Regions from separate parts of the Homo sapiens genome. Here regions 2, 3, 4, 5 and 6 are each linked to region 1. Evidence: promoter capture Hi-C in 16 types of primary human blood cells and fetal thymus (Javierre and others, 2016). All regions are on one chromosome and are shown on one strand. Each heading gives the region's core, a stretch centred on a gene start or on the middle of the fragment in contact. The rest is flanking DNA. Distances are from core to core; before and after follow the strand shown. Region 1 holds the start of RASA1 (RAS p21 protein activator 1). Region 2 has its middle 3.4 kb from the start of RPS23. Region 3 overlaps TMEM167A (transmembrane protein 167A). Region 4 holds the start of ARRDC3 (arrestin domain containing 3). Region 5 has its middle 8.2 kb from the start of CETN3. Region 6 overlaps CETN3 (centrin 3).

Evidence for each region. Contacts are between HindIII fragments. The CHiCAGO score rates a contact against its expected background, and 5 or more counts as called.
Region 2: a fragment that was not itself captured here is called in contact with the fragment with the promoter of RASA1 in region 1 in 2 of 17 cell types (non-activated CD4 T cells and monocytes); the score reaches 7.2 in non-activated CD4 T cells.
Region 3: a contact is called between a fragment that was not itself captured here and the fragment with the promoter of RASA1 in region 1, in 1 of 17 cell types (activated CD4 T cells). The highest score is 5.1, in activated CD4 T cells.
Region 4: a fragment that was not itself captured here is called in contact with the fragment with the promoter of RASA1 in region 1 in 5 of 17 cell types (non-activated CD4 T cells, naive B cells, total B cells and 2 more); the score reaches 8.4 in non-activated CD4 T cells.
Region 5: a contact is called between a fragment that was not itself captured here and the fragment with the promoter of RASA1 in region 1, in 2 of 17 cell types (non-activated CD4 T cells and total B cells). The highest score is 6.4, in non-activated CD4 T cells.
Region 6: a fragment that was not itself captured here is called in contact with the fragment with the promoter of RASA1 in region 1 in 1 of 17 cell types (total B cells); the score reaches 5.8 in total B cells.

Annotation. Positions count from the first base shown.
Region 1 is chr5:87,266,627-87,269,132 of GRCh38, forward strand. It overlaps RASA1 (RAS p21 protein activator 1), which reads left to right and starts at 1,257. Exons shown (of 25, transcript NM_002890.3): 1 at 1,257-2,364. The coding sequence starts at 1,826. RefSeq lists enhancers at 986-1,280, 1,334-2,221, 1,979-2,028 and silencers at 1,029-1,278, 1,619-1,798. The HindIII fragment of the contact is 5,594 bases long and covers 1-2,506 here.
Region 2 is chr5:82,280,538-82,283,043 of GRCh38, forward strand. It overlaps the pseudogene ATP6AP1L. Among named protein-coding and RNA genes, the nearest start is that of RPS23, 3.4 kb to the left of the region's middle. The HindIII fragment of the contact is 5,869 bases long and covers 1-2,506 here.
Region 3 is chr5:83,068,101-83,070,606 of GRCh38, forward strand. All of the region lies in intron 1 of TMEM167A (transmembrane protein 167A), which reads right to left. Among named protein-coding and RNA genes, the nearest start is that of TMEM167A, 8.0 kb to the right of the region's middle. The HindIII fragment of the contact is 1,589 bases long and covers 460-2,048 here.
Region 4 is chr5:91,383,018-91,385,523 of GRCh38, forward strand. ARRDC3 (arrestin domain containing 3) reads right to left here and starts at 300. Exons shown (of 8, transcript NM_020801.4): 1 at 1-300. The coding sequence starts at 75. The region is part of intron 1 of ARRDC3-AS1 (ARRDC3 antisense RNA 1); the gene reads left to right. RefSeq lists a silencer at 207-516 and enhancers at 370-887, 767-1,066. The HindIII fragment of the contact is 278 bases long and covers 1,115-1,392 here.
Region 5 is chr5:90,416,710-90,419,215 of GRCh38, forward strand. No RefSeq gene overlaps it. Among named protein-coding and RNA genes, the nearest start is that of CETN3, 8.2 kb to the left of the region's middle. The HindIII fragment of the contact is 7,813 bases long and covers 1-2,506 here.
Region 6 is chr5:90,398,593-90,401,098 of GRCh38, forward strand. It overlaps CETN3 (centrin 3), which reads right to left. Exons shown (of 5, transcript NM_004365.4): 4 at 766-957. Among named protein-coding and RNA genes, the nearest start is that of CETN3, 9.9 kb to the right of the region's middle. The HindIII fragment of the contact is 771 bases long and covers 868-1,638 here.

The DNA of each region.
Region 1 (2,506 bases), core at 7-2,506:
ATTGACTAGGTAAATAGGCCTGTGCAAACTTACAAAGGCAATGCATTGCCTGTATCTTGTCACGTCTTTTAGTGGTCTTTTCTCTTTTTCCTGGGTTTCTATCACAGCCACTTGCCATCCTGAGTGTTAGTTTGATCATCCTTAGCACAGAAAATATTGATCTCAAAGATCAATATCCAATGGTATTTAATGTGGGATCACTCCTGGGAGAATTTAACAATATTGTTAATTTCAAACCATGGGAAGCTCCCTCTACATGAATGCATAGTTTGTATACATTTTAGTGTAAAAGACAAAATAACACCCTTCTCCTTAATTGTATTAAAAATGAGTTTTCAGTTTATTGCTACTTTTGAAACGATATATAATTATAACTAGCATTCTGGGACATTCTTGACATTTGACTTGTTGAAGGTGCTTGCATTGTGGATCACGTCCTGCAGTCTTTTGCACACAAACCAGGACAAAAGTGCATTGATTAGTGTTTTCTGTGGCACCTCCTCCTCTTCATCAGTATCCAACAGACTTATAATGGCATAGGTAAGTATATGAGACAGTTGATAAAGAAAAACGTATGCAAATACTGGTAGAAATCTTACTTCATAACCACTATTTCTACTCAAATTCTTCACCCTTCTCATATGGTGCCCTTTATTTCGTTTTGGAGTTTCAGAATCTATTTTAACTGTGTGTGTGTGAGATAGTCATAGTGATTTATAGCATGCAACGAAAAAGAAAACATTAATAGTACTGCCCCGATCTTCAAAGCTACCTGACCCCTGCCCGGTTTCTGCGCTGCTGGTTAAGGCTGTTTTTTCCACTGGTCAGGAAGTACGGAACTAGTTTCTGGGCATTTTCCTTTCCCTTTCCCCCTCCTTCCTCTCCACCGCCTCCTGGTCCCCCTCTGGTCTCTCCGGCTTTAACAGCGCCAAGCACCCGCGTGCTCAGGTACCCTTCCCTCTTCTCCCGCCCATCAAACAAAGCCCCGGGAGACAGGCGCGCGCCGCCGGCCACGCCAACAGGAGATGCGGCCGCGCCGCCACACGCTTGGAACCGGAGGAGGACAGCAAGCGCGACCACGCACCGCGCGTCCCCGCCGCTTCCTTCCCTCTGGACTCTTCCTTTTCCTCCCGGCCCGGCCCCCCGCCCCCGCTCCGGGAACGCGCCTGCGCACAAGCTGCCCTCTCCCTTCTCCGCCCTTCCTTCCCTCCGTCCCTCCTCCCCTGCCCCGCCTTCCTTTCTCTCTCTCCCGTTTCACTCACTGAGAGCTCCAGGTAGTGAGCAGTTCAGTCGATTTCCTCGTTACCCCGCCCCCCTTTCTCTTGCCCCCCCACCCCTCTCATCTGCCTGGTGGAGGATGAAGCGGCTGCAGTGGCCCCAGCCTCAGCAGCGGCACCGGCGGTGGCTGCGGTGTGGGTGGCCGGAACTGGGGTGGTGAAGAAGCGGTGGTGGCGGCTGAAGGAGCGGTAGCAGCCTCAGCCTCTTTCCCTGTGCTTCCTTTCCTCTTTAGTGCAGCGAGGAAGTTTTCGCTTCTGTACATGTGTTTGTGTGCGTGAGTGTGGGTGTGTGCGGTGAGGTTTGGGTGGCGTTTGTGCAGGCGTTGGGTTTTTTGCCCACTTGGCTTCCCGTAACCCAGGCAGCTGGGGAGCCTGGGCTGTGGCCCTAGGAGGGGGCGCGGCGGCGGGCTCTCTCCTTTTGTTGTTGTTTCCTCAGCCTGGGGAGCTGAAGGGGAGACGCGTCTGGGTGGGGCTGCTCGGAGCCCGGGCCTGGTGGCCCCTGGGGCTCCCGGGCGGGCAGGGTAGGGCAGAGTAGAGCGGGCTTCAACATGATGGCGGCCGAGGCCGGCAGTGAGGAGGGCGGCCCGGTAACAGCCGGAGCTGGAGGAGGCGGCGCGGCAGCGGGCTCCAGTGCCTATCCCGCAGTGTGTCGGGTGAAGATACCCGCGGCCCTGCCTGTGGCAGCCGCCCCCTATCCTGGGCTGGTGGAGACCGGAGTGGCTGGAACTCTGGGTGGCGGAGCCGCTTTGGGGTCAGAGTTCCTAGGAGCCGGGTCTGTGGCAGGGGCACTGGGGGGAGCTGGACTGACAGGGGGAGGTACTGCTGCTGGCGTAGCTGGTGCTGCTGCTGGCGTGGCCGGTGCTGCTGTTGCTGGACCTAGTGGAGACATGGCTCTCACCAAACTGCCCACTTCGTTGCTTGCTGAGACTCTCGGGCCAGGCGGCGGTTTTCCCCCTCTGCCCCCTCCCCCTTACCTGCCCCCTTTGGGGGCGGGCCTCGGGACAGTGGACGAAGGTGACTCTCTGGATGGACCAGAATACGAGGAGGAAGAGGTGGCCATACCGTTGACCGCTCCTCCAACTAACCAGTAAGTTAAGACTGCTGTTCAGGAATTTGGGAAGCTGGCTCCAGAAAAGAAGTGGAAATGAAGGGGTAAATCATACTTTGTCCTTTTCATCTGTGGTTTGTTAGGAAAAGTTTTTGAAGTTTCAGGTTTCTTGGGTAGGAAT
Region 2 (2,506 bases), core at 3-2,502, 5.0 Mb before region 1:
AAAGGCGATGGGATCGGAGTGAAGAGAATATGGGAGGGAAGGAAGTCTAGACAGCAACTATAGACAATTTTTGAAAGACATTTTTTATGTGCAGAGAAATGGCACCCTATTTGGAGGGGAATGTGGAGTTGGAGGGTTTTATTTTTAAGATGGCAACTTTTATGACATTTTTGTATGCTGATCAGGTTGAGAAAATTAAAAATGGGTTATTCAGCAGAGAAGGGATAATTGCAGGAGCAACTCCTTAAGTAGACTAGAAGGGTACCCAAGTGGAGGAGTTAACTGTAGGAACAATAACAGTTTATGTATGGTAGTAGAGTGACAGGTACAGCTGCAAGTAAATTGGAAGATTTGATGATAGGAAGTTGTGGAACTTCTTCACTTTTGACTTACTTTTTCAATTTTTTCAATGAAATAAAAAGCAAGGCCATCAGTGAAGAGAAAGAGTGGGAGAAAAAGGTTTGAGGAGAGAAGGTAAGATGTGAAATCATCATCAATGATAACAATATAAGCATTAGATAGTATTTACTATGTGCCAGATTCTATTTTTGGCTTATATTTATTAACTCATTTTATTCTCATAAGGAATTTTACTGAGGGACAGATAACGATAATTTTACTGAGGGATAGATATACAAAAACTGAGGCTTTGGTGAGTTTAACTTCCCCAAGATCACGTATTTAGTAAGTGGTAGAAGTAAGATTTTAACCCAGGTAATCTGGTTTTAGAATCTTGTATTTGACCCCTCTTATACTGCCTCCTAATCTAGAATGGTAGGAAAATGCATTGACAAGAAAATAGGTTTTTTGAGCAGTTCTGAGAGCCCATTTGAAATCTGTGTTTATGAAGTGACATCAGTGAGTTATGTGTATTTCTTCAGATTCACAAATACTGCATGTTTACACTTATATGTGGAATCTAAAAATTTTGAACGGATAGAAGCAGTGAGTAGAATGGTGGGCGTGGGAGTTTGGGGGATCTGGGGAGCTGTTGGTCAAAGGATACAAAGGTTTAGTTTGACAGGAGGAGAAAATTTTCGAGAGACTTGTTGAATAACATGGTGACTCCAGTTGACCCACAAACAATATGGGTTTGAATTGTGTGGGTCCACATACAGGCAGATTTTCTTCTGCCTCTGACACCCCGAGAAAGCAAAAACTCCTCTTCCTCTTCCTCCTCCTCAGCCTACTCAATGTGATGACCTTTATGATGATCCATTTCCATTTAATGAGTAGTAAATAAATTTTCTCTTCTTTCTAATTTTGTTATTAACATTCATTTCTGTGGCTTAATTTATTGTAAGAATATGGTATGTAATACACGTAACATGAAATATGTGTTAATAGGCTGTTTATGTTATCAGTAAGAGTTCCAGTCAACAGTAGGCTATTAGTAGTTAAGTTTTCGGAAAGTCGGAAGTTATACACAGATTTTCTACTGTGTGGGGAGGTCAGCATCCCTAACCCCCATGTTGTTCAAGGGTCAACTGTATAAATAACAAAGTTTATATTGAAAATTGCTAAAAGAATAGATTTTAAGTGTTCTCACCACAGAAAAATGATACAAAAGTATTTGAGGTAATGCATATGTTAGTTAGCTCTATTTAACCATTGTACAATGTACATATATATTTAAAATATGTTGTAAACCATAAATATACACAGATTTTGTTAAAGAATAAATAATTTAAAAATAATATTTAAAAAAGATGGAGCCACACAAAAAGTGATTACTCAATGAAATTGTGTCACTGTCTTACACTGAAAGCATAAATCAACTCTGGATAAATTAAGGGCTTAAATATCAACAAGAAAACTTTGAAATTCTTAATAGAGAACAAAGGTGAATATCTTTTTGAACTTAGGAAAGGAAAATGTTTCTACACATGACAAGAATGATAAATTTGATCATATTAAAATTAAGACCCTCTATTCATCAAAAACATCTGAAAGAAAGTGAAAAGACAAGTTCCATACTGAGAATTGCTATTCATAGCCACAAAACTTACAAAGGATTAATATTTTAAAAAATTTCTGGCCGGGCGTGGTGGCTCACACCTGTAATCCCAGCACTTTGGGAGGCCGAGGCAGGGGGATCACGTGAGGTCAGGAATTCGAGACCAGCCTGGCCAACATGGTGAAACCCCCTCTCTACTGAAAATACAAAAATTAGCCGGGTGTGGTGGCGCATGCCTGTAATCCCAGTTACTCAGGAGGCTGAGGCAGGAAAATCGCTTGAACTGAGGAGGCAGAGGTTGCAGTGAGCCGAGATCGCTCCATTGCACTCCAGCCTGGGCAACAAAGTGAGACTCTGTCTCAAAAGAAACAAACAAAAAAATCCCTTCTACAGAATAATATAAAAGAACAAATAATACAGTGAGAAAACATGACAAAGGACAGGAATAGACCAGCCATGGTGGCTCACATCTGTAATCCTAGCACTTTCGGAGACTGAGGCAGGTGGATCACTTGAGGTCAGGAGTTCAAGACCAGCCTGGCCAACATA
Region 3 (2,506 bases), core at 4-2,503, 4.2 Mb before region 1:
TCTTTCAAAGGTCATATTTTGAATATGTATGTGAATATATTAATAAATAATATTGGATAATGACCTCATAGAAAATAAAGCAGATTTCCTCCCAACATAACTAAATGTGTATTTGGTATCCACTTTGTCTGAGAAATGAGGCAGTGGGGATTAAAAAAAAGGCACATGGTATGATTCCTTCCCTACAGGAGTTTATGGCTAACAATAGCAATTACTGATATTCACTGAGTACTTGTTTTATGTTATCCTCATGTATCTGGGGTAAATATTACCTGAATTTTATTCATGATTGTTATTACCTGTATTTTATACATGAGACTGAGGCACACAGCAGTTATAATCAAGTAATCAAGTGAAAACAGAGCATGTACTTTAAAAAGTAAATAGTAACTCATTGTTGAATGTGGAAGTGAGTTATGCAGACAAAAAATGCCATTTTTGTAAGAAAAAGTCAGGAAAAGCTTCATGTAGAAAGCAGGAACGGAGTCAAACCTTGAAAGGGCACCATTCAGATGGGCAAATAGCAAGCTCCAGAAGAGAAAAAAAAATGTGGGAAAAAAACCCTACAGAAAAAGTCATTGGCACGTTCAGGGAATAATGAGAATCTTACTGTATTTTAAGCAAAAGATTCCTACAGTAAAATGGTTGGAAAACAAATCTTCAAAGTAGGTTTATCATTTTCCTAATGCAGTATCTAAATTCATGACTTTGTAATGTGTTCTCTTTCCTTCTCCAAATGTGTTTTTAAAGAAAACATGCTTAAATGATATAATGTTCAGGATTGGTTTCTAAATAATCCAGTGCATGTGTGGTGGGAGAGGGGTAGGGTTGATGATAAAATGCTGAGAATATGAGGGTTCATTATAGGCTTCTACCTCTTTATGTTTGAATGTTTTCATAATAGAAGATAAAAAGGCACTTAAAAACATGCCTATTAGGAAAGTAGAGTGTGTATATACGTTTGTGTGTGAAGCCATTTACAAAAGAAAACCATTTACAAGTATGAAATATATGATATATACAACTTTGTTCTGGGGGTTTAAAGCCTCTAAAGTTTAAAACAAATAATCTTAGGTGGTAAGTCTTTTAGATGTACTCAGACTCTGGTCAAAAGTGTGTTTCTAACTTACGGACATTAGCCTGCCACCTATAGCATTCCCCTTAATGCTTAGCATCTGTTGTCTGGTGACATAAAATTTTAGTCTCAGGGTTAAAGGAAACAGATGTTCCTCTTCAGTGAAAAAATAATTGCAATTTTCAACAGAAAAATGTTATTAAAAGGGAAAGGAGGAATCTAAGAAAAGGTAAGCATATTTAATCACAAAACAGAGGAAAAGATGATTAAAAGGTGGTAAGTCAAATTCATTTACCTTGTTTAATTTTTTTCAGGGCCTTTAAGTCATGAAACCTTTTCCAAGGTACTCTATTGAGTTTTGCACATGCTATCTGTTCTTGCCTGCTTGGTGAACTGACTCATGCGTCCAATCTCAACTCAAGATTCACCTCCTCTGATGTCTTTCCTGTTCCCACTCACTATACCAAGCAGAGTCAGGATTTTTGTATGTGCATAATACATACACATAACAATGTGTATGTTATAGAACACATCATACTGTACTGTGATTGTCTATTCTATTGAGGTTTTCATCAATCCCCTGTGACTATTAAAATATAGTACACAGAGAAGTCACTGAAAAGTGTCAAATGAACAGGAACTTGAACGCAACTGGCAATAATGAACATTTTAACAAATCCAAGAGCATACTTGGATTCCAAAGAAAAAATACACATTCAAAAACCAGTGTAGATCAGATTGCTGAATACAGTATTTTGTTAACTCTTCAAGAGAAACCTCCATGTATGGCTTTGCATATATGCTTACTTCTCAAGAATATTTTGGAAAATCAAGTAGAAAGATGCAAATTTCCTTATATTTATGTTAAGGACCTAGGCTGTAGGGTAAAATAAAGACCTGAGGTAATTTCCATTCAGTATCCACATCTTCTATCACCTCCTGGAATTCAGATTTTCTATTCTATCAAGCAGCAAGCTTTGAAGGTGCTTGCACACTGGAAAGTGTGTGTTCTTCTGACTTCTTTTAATTCTTAAGAGATATACACTTTCAAAAGATCTGTACGACTGAGTACGCAGGTTCTGTAAGACTGAGTACGCAGGTTATCTTGACCATTACTCTGAGAGCTATGTCATTCTTCTAAAACATGGCAATGGAGGCCTCCAAACGATTTGTCATCAAGGGCTCTTTTACTAACCCTCTGCATTGTAGACTTATCTGACAACTCATAATCAATAAGATCTTTTGATATGCTTGAAACAACTAGTGTTATTGAACTGAGTTAATTTACCCAAACCGGAAGGATATAAACTTGAGTCAGTTACTTTATTTGATCATTTTGAAGTAAATCACATTTGGTTAGGTGTTTTGAAATAATAAAAATAATTCACAGACTTTATTTGGCCACCACTACAGGAGATGCAATAATTAATC
Region 4 (2,506 bases), core at 4-2,503, 4.1 Mb after region 1:
AGAATACACAGGGACATTGCTGTCATTAAGACAGTCAAAGCTTATTGTCAAACTCTTCACCTTTCCCAGCACCATGTTTATAACAAAATCTATAAAAATATAATGTAAGACAAAAAAGTCAAGATCGCATATAAAATGTGATCTTCACTTAACACTGATCGATATTTTTGCCGTGCAAAATGCTTGCAGGCCGGATCAGTGATTCTCTACAAATAGTTCATTGAGATTTCTTAAAAAGTCAGGGCAGCAGAGGCTGCTGCTCCGCGCTCCCGCTCGTCTCAGTGGTCTCCTTACAAAGACGGGCGGCTAAAAGCTGCCAGCTCACTTTAAGAGCAGCTTTGTGAAAAACAACCCCAGTGCGCAGGCGCAGGCCGCGGCTGCTGTCCGCCCTCCCTGCGCGCCCCCTCCCGCGCCGCGCCGCGCCGCGCTCGCTCCCTTGCCCGCTCGCTCCCGGGTACAGTAGGTGTAGAGCTAGGGGAAGGAGATACTGGAGCTGCTGGCCGGCTGAACCTGACTTCTCTTCATTGTGGGCTCCTATTGGTAGGCAGGCTACCGTATACCCTCGACGTGCTATCTGGAGCCCGTTACCGAGCGCACTCTACTAGAAAGATAATGGCAGAGTGGGGTGCGAGGGTACAAGGGCTGGGTGGGGAGTTTGCAAAGCCAAGTTAGGATAAACTGCAGCGACCAGCCCGAAGCGTGCGTTACCGGCACTGCAGCGTTTTACCAACTGCCTGGATGGGAGGAGGAAAAAGTGATGTGTGAAGAGAGATGGGGGAAGGGAGAAACCGGTTGGGCAAGCGGCCGATTGTTGAGCATAATCTAACGAATTTCCAAAGAAAACGTAATAAAACCGGACAAGAAATATTGTTCATAGACAAGAGCATACTTTGCTTGGATTTTTTTTTTTTAAACCAGTACTTTGTAGGCAGGTTGGAAATGAACTCAGTCGAGGTCAAAGGAACCTTAATCCTTTGAAGAGCGAGGTAGAGAAGCAAGTACAATGTAATCAATAGGCTTTGCTGTCTCCTCAACTTCTTTCTCCTACATTGCTTAATTAGCACCGAAAAACAACCAAGTTGTTTCCAGGATGACACGGGTGGGGGCTGGGGGAAGCTTGATCACTTCCTCGAAGGAAGAAAAAGTCCTTTTAAGACACCACCTACGGCTAGATTTGCAGAGTAAGACATGATTACAACTCCTGTGTCCAGAGGAATAAGAATAGAGTTCGGCCTAAAAAAGTACTACCTTATAAAAGGCATATGACATAGTGGTTTAGCTGACATATTGTTTGCAACAGAATCGGAAAATCTTTGTTAGAAATTAGTGAAGCGCATAAAATTGTTTTTAAAAAGCATGATTTGGTATATAAATAGGGATTTAACTGTGTGAAGCTTTAATTTTCGGCCGAGAGCCTTGGACCATTTAACGTAGTAATTCTCATGATACATCTTAAATATAGGTACATTTCTCTTTTTATTGTGAATGTTTGGTAAAAAATAGCAGTGCTTTCGTCACATCACACTGGGATTCAGAGCATAACAGCATAAACTCATCTAGATTACTGGCAATCAACAGAACTGCCTTACAAGAGAAATGTAGAAAGAAAAAATATGAATCTGGTGCTCTCTCTATATATATATGTATGACCAAAAATACCTTGGAAGATTTTTGGCTGTCCGTGTCTAAACGTTTTAGATTCTTTTGCGTAGTGTATATGGATAGGTTGAGCCTATGAGTCACAATAAACTAAACTTATTGGTCTTGCTGTTTTATTTCAAAAGAAACTAAGCTTTTGGGGGTTGGATTTTAGTTGACAAGGCAATATCTTGGACTCAACAGCAATATATAAAGAGTATAAATATGCAAACTAGACAATTAATGAGCAGGCCATTTATTTCAGAGTTTAGATCGCTATGCATAAAATTATAAATTTGCATATTTAAGTGGGAAAAACAGTCTTATCTTTTCCCTACCTCTTGGTTGACACCTGGTGGAAATTCTAGGTAAAGTACCTGGGGCCTTGTACTAGCTTTGATTACAGATACTACTTGTGTTTTTTCTCCACCTAGTGGTAGAAGTGGTGAATTTCCTAGAATGACAGCTTTTCCTCAGCATAAGGTCAATGATATTTAATAAGCATTCGAAAACCACTGAGCAAGGAATGGATTTAAAAGTGTAGTCCATAATGAATACATAAATTCATTGCACATTTGTGTCTACATTTATGTTAAAAATTATTAAGGGTTAGTGAACAGCTGAATTCGGATTTTTTTAGTAAAATTTATTTAATTAGAATATAACTCATTTCAGAAAAAATAAGAATTAGCTATATAAATACACCAGAATTGCATTTAATAAAAAAGAAGTCTAAGAAATTTATTTGTAGTTTGGAAAATTGTTTTAAAATATTAAATGTTTCATTCCTGTCACTGTGTAGTACATTATTCTTTGTGTTTGAAGCTTTCAGGATCTTTTGAATAGTTGTCTTTATTATTTATTTTGC
Region 5 (2,506 bases), core at 5-2,504, 3.2 Mb after region 1:
TCAAGTGATCCACCCGCCTCTGCCTGTCAAAGTCTTGGGATTACAGGTGTGAGCCACCATACCCAGCCCCCAAAAATGTTTTAAATAGTTAGGCACGATGGCACACACCTGTGGTCCTAGCTGCTTGAGAAGCTAAGGCAGGAGGATTGCTTGAGCCCAGGAGGTCAAGGTTGCAGGGAACTACTGTGCCACTGCACTCTAGCCTGGGTGACAGAGTTAGACTGTCTCAAAAAAATAAAAAGAACTCAGTAAAAAGAAAAAAGCTATCAAGCCATGAAATAACATGAAGGAAACTTACATGCATATTACTAAGTAAAAGAAGGCAAATCTGAAAGGCTACATACTGTATGATTCCAACAATGTGACATTTTGGAAAAGATAAAAACTACGGAGGCAGCAAAAAGATCAGTGGCCATCAGGGATCAGGCAGAGGAGGCATGAATAGGCAGAGCACAGAGGATGTTTAGGGCAGTGAACACTATTCTATATGATCCTATAATAATGGACAGATTTAATGATATATTTGTTAATACCCATGGAATGTACAACACCAAAAGTGAATCTTAATGTGAGCTCTTTACTTCAGATGATAATAATGTGATAACACATCAATGTGTTACTGGCAGGTCTTTGTTCTTAAGAGTTCCCAAGATGGTGGCGGGCCACTCCCAAGATGGTGGCAAGCCTTTTGCTCTCTGACCTGGAGTTCTTGGCCTCACAGATTCCAAGGAATGGAACCTTGGGCCATGCAGTGAGTGTAATAGCTCTATTAGAAGCTGTGGGTCATGGAAGAGAACTGTGGAACCCAGCGACTAGTGTTCAGCTTGATTAGGACGAACCTGGGCACTTAGCTGCACAGGAACAATGGTGAGCCTTTAGCCCCATCAGGAGTGGCAATGGGTGCCTCACTGGATCAGAAGTGCAGTGGACACCCTGCTGGATCTGGAGGGTGGAAGTCAGCAGCAGTGTCTGCAATGACAGCGATCAGCAGTGGTGGACAGTGAGCGAAAGCTCAGCTCGAGCCAGAACAAACAGGGACCAGAAGAGTGTGCAGTTGCAAGATTTAATAGAGTGAAAACAGAGCTCCCATACAACAGGAGGGCACCCAAAGGGAGTTGCCACTGCTGGCTGGAACGCCTGGGTTTTTATCCTGATCATTGTCCCTCCCCCTGTGCTCTCAGGTGATAGATGATTGACTATTTCTTTACCTCCTGCTTTTAGCCTAATTGGTATTTTAGTGAGCTGAGTTACAAGCCCTGTGTTTAAAGGTAGGTGCAGTCACTTCCCCAGCTAGGCTTAGGAATTCTTAGTCAGCCTAGGAAATCCAACTAGTCCTGTCTCTCAAATGTAGGTTCATCAGTTGTCATAAATATACCTCTCTCATGCAAGATGTTGATAGTAGGGGAGAGGTTGCACAAGTATAGGGGCAGAGGATACGTGAGCTCTGAAATTTCTGCTCAATTTTGCTGTGAACCTAAAACTGCTCTAAAAAATGGTCTATTTTCTTAAAAAGATGAGACTGTTGGAGTACTTAAAATGTATTACCTCTGGGAAATGGGAAATGAGACACTGATTACCTATTCCAACTGAGACCAATTGCCCAATTGCTTTTTAGATCTGTAAAACAACAGTTGGATTCCTTGGTTAAACTCACTGTTTCTCATATTTCACATCTTCATCCTGTTATGTTTCACTCTTACTTTGCTGGAGTATATCTTCAGGAACTCAGAAATGGTATATGACAGGCAAATTTTCTAAATTCTTTATTTTGTCCCCACAACTGCTTTCACAGTTGAAACAGAAAATGGAAAAGAATGGGACAGGCGACTTTTACCCTTATGAACTATATTTAGTAAACCACATCTATGAAGTACTTTGATAAAAATGCAGAATAGAAGGAAAAATTCATCTGGACAAAATGTATTCTACAGTCCATTGGGAAAATAAAGTTAGATCCACATTTCAGATTTTGTATCAAAATACAATCAAAACAAGTTGAAAGTTTAACTATAAAAAAAGTTAAAAGAACATATACTTAGTTTAATAATTTTAGAATTCAGAAAGACTTCCTCAGCATAATTACCAACATTAGAAGCCATAAAATAATGATAGATCTGAGTACACAAATGTACTTTTTTTTTTTTTTGAGACAGAATCTTGTTTTGTCACTCAGGCTCGAGTCCAGCGGTGCAATCTCAGTTCACTGCAACCTCTGCCTCCCAGGTTCAAGCGATTCTCCTGCCTCAGCCTTCCAAGTAGCTGAGAGTACAAGCCCGTGCCACCAATCCTGGCTGATTTTTGTATTTTTAGTAGAGATGGGGTTTCACCACGTTGGTCAGGCTGGTCTCGAACTCCAACCTCGGGTGATCCACCTGCATTGGCCTCCCAAAGTGCTGGGACTATAGGCGTGAGCCACCGTACCTGGCCCAAGTGCACATTTTTATATAAATAAAATATCTTTATATAAATAAAATACACACCAAGCTATTTAACCAGTGGTTAACTC
Region 6 (2,506 bases), core at 3-2,502, 3.1 Mb after region 1:
AAAATGTGTACATACAGGAGGTGAGGGTTAAAGAAGAAAAGTGAAAGAATACACTGGAAAGTAAAATCAGTTACTCAAGGTGGGATAGATCATAGAAGGCTTTGAACTTTACTCTGTAGGCACTGAAGAATCGTTTCAAGTGTCTAAACACAGAAATGGCATTATCAAATGTATATTTTAGGAAAAGAATGATACCAAGAGACTGAAGAAGAGATTAGAGACTTTTATATGCCGAAAGGGCAATTAGGACACTACAAGAGACTGCAAAGTGAAAGCAAGAACCACATCTGCCTTTTTCATTGTGTAGCACCAGTCAACACGCAGGACACTGCACCCAGTAGGCAGCCAAGGCAAGAATAAATGAGGCCATTATAACATTCCTAACTAGAAATTAGGGCCTGAACTAGGACAGCCACAATGGACAAAGATAAAAACAGATTCAAAACATTTGAAGGGGAAAATCAATAGAACTTAGAACTTAGCATGTAGGTTGAGGGAGAAGCCATTAAAGACTGAAATTATATTGAAAGGCTGAAATTTTGGTGGTTTCACCTTCAGAGAAAAGTGAAGGACCTTCTTGAAGTATAATTGGTTTTAGAGATCTGCTTCATTCTAAATTGAATATGTGAATTATTTAGACAGAAGGTCCATTACAAGAAGCAGTTAAGTTTACAAAAAAGTCTTGCAAGTCATTTGGTTTTAGAAAAATGTATTACATGTGTAGCATCAGGAAAACCTGGAAAATACGTTTCACTTAAAACTTACTTTCTCCATCACCATCTTTGTCAAATTCTTCTATCATAGCTCGAAGTTCTTCATCACTCATGTTTTCACCCAATTCTCTAGCAACACGTCGCAAATTCCTCAAGCTTATTTTACCTGAATCATCATCATCAAATAGTTTAAATGCCTTGAGTATTTCTTCATGGGGATCTCTTTCCAATATCCAGTCTGTCACTACAGTTTAAAAACATATATATTTTAATAAACCTGCATAATCACAAAGGCATTCATTTGTGAAATCAACTAAATATTAGATGAGAATTAAAGCTGTGACTGTCAACTTTTAGTCTGACAATAAAATGTCAAATGAGATCCCCAAACCCCGAGATAAACCTGAAATTAGAAAAATCAAATCCATATTTTAAATGTTAACCTTTTTTATCATGAGCAACTTGTCTTATTATAAAAGTAAGCAAAACTATATCACACAGAGGCAAAATAAAAAGGACTACATTTATACCATATTTATTTAAGATCTACTATTATCAAGAATTGTACTAGGCTCCACTGACATCAAGCACACAAGGAGTGTGTCATCTACCTGTGGAGAGACATACCAACAAAATAATTGGAGCTAACTAAATAAAAGCTGCTTGCTGACTAAACGTCATACTAACACTGATTCTTCCTCAAATTTAATCCAACTTCAAAACAAGAAAAACTGCAAGAGACAAAAAGTACTGCCATCGCAGACACAGGCACAATCTCAGACAGCATTTGAAAATTCCACTAATACCTTTGTGATTAGAAGAACCTCTTGGTTTTCCAAAATTTACAAAGTAGTAAATAGGATCAAATCTGACTATAGCAGGAAAGCCCACCCAAAAAAAACCTCTGCAAAGAAGGTCTCCTTAAAGCTTACCCATTTTGTTTGGATAAATCACTCTCAGACAACTAACTAAAAATAAATGTAGTTTCAAACCTCAATGGTAATTGTGTATTTTAATACACTAAATATAATCACATGTAATAACATAGTAATAAGCTTAAGTATTTTCAATTTTACCAGTCTTTAATCAATAGCCACAATAAAAATTAAAATAAAAATCTATGGCATAAAAATTGGTAAGTTACTAAATAAAATTCTAACAGTATCTAAATAAGTATCTCTGAAGTAATTATATACACTATCTGCCACTACAAGAAAAGGTATTTATGGCCTTTACTATGCTATTAAAAATAACTCGGTCCTGTTGAAGGTTACAGAATCATTAAAAAAAAAAAAAAAAGCAACTGCTTATAGATGGAAAATACTGGAATGTTTAAGGAACCCAGAATGAAAAAAATACAATCGAAGTCTCCAACAAGCTGTTGTTTTGCTGCTGTTTCACCCGTATTTGGTTCAATAATCACCTATTCAAATGACTATTATATCATCTACACATATTTTCAATAGTTTCCTTTTATCCATTAATTTTATCCAAAAAGGCTTCCAAGTAACTAATTGAAGTATATTACTGTAAGTATGCAAATCATCAAAGCTCATAAATATTCAGTCAAAAAGAAGCTGGCATATCTACAGCCATAACACCAAAATAAAATACCACACTTAACTCTATGGCACATACTCAACTTATTTTGAATTTAGTCCCAACAAAAAAGCAGGACAAGGAAAAAAAGTGTTAAGAAATTTTCTTCACCAATTAAATAATTTACATGACAGGTGAACCAAAAAAGCAGCTTGCTGAAAGTATTAATGTACTTAAAGAAGCAACAGGGTGAT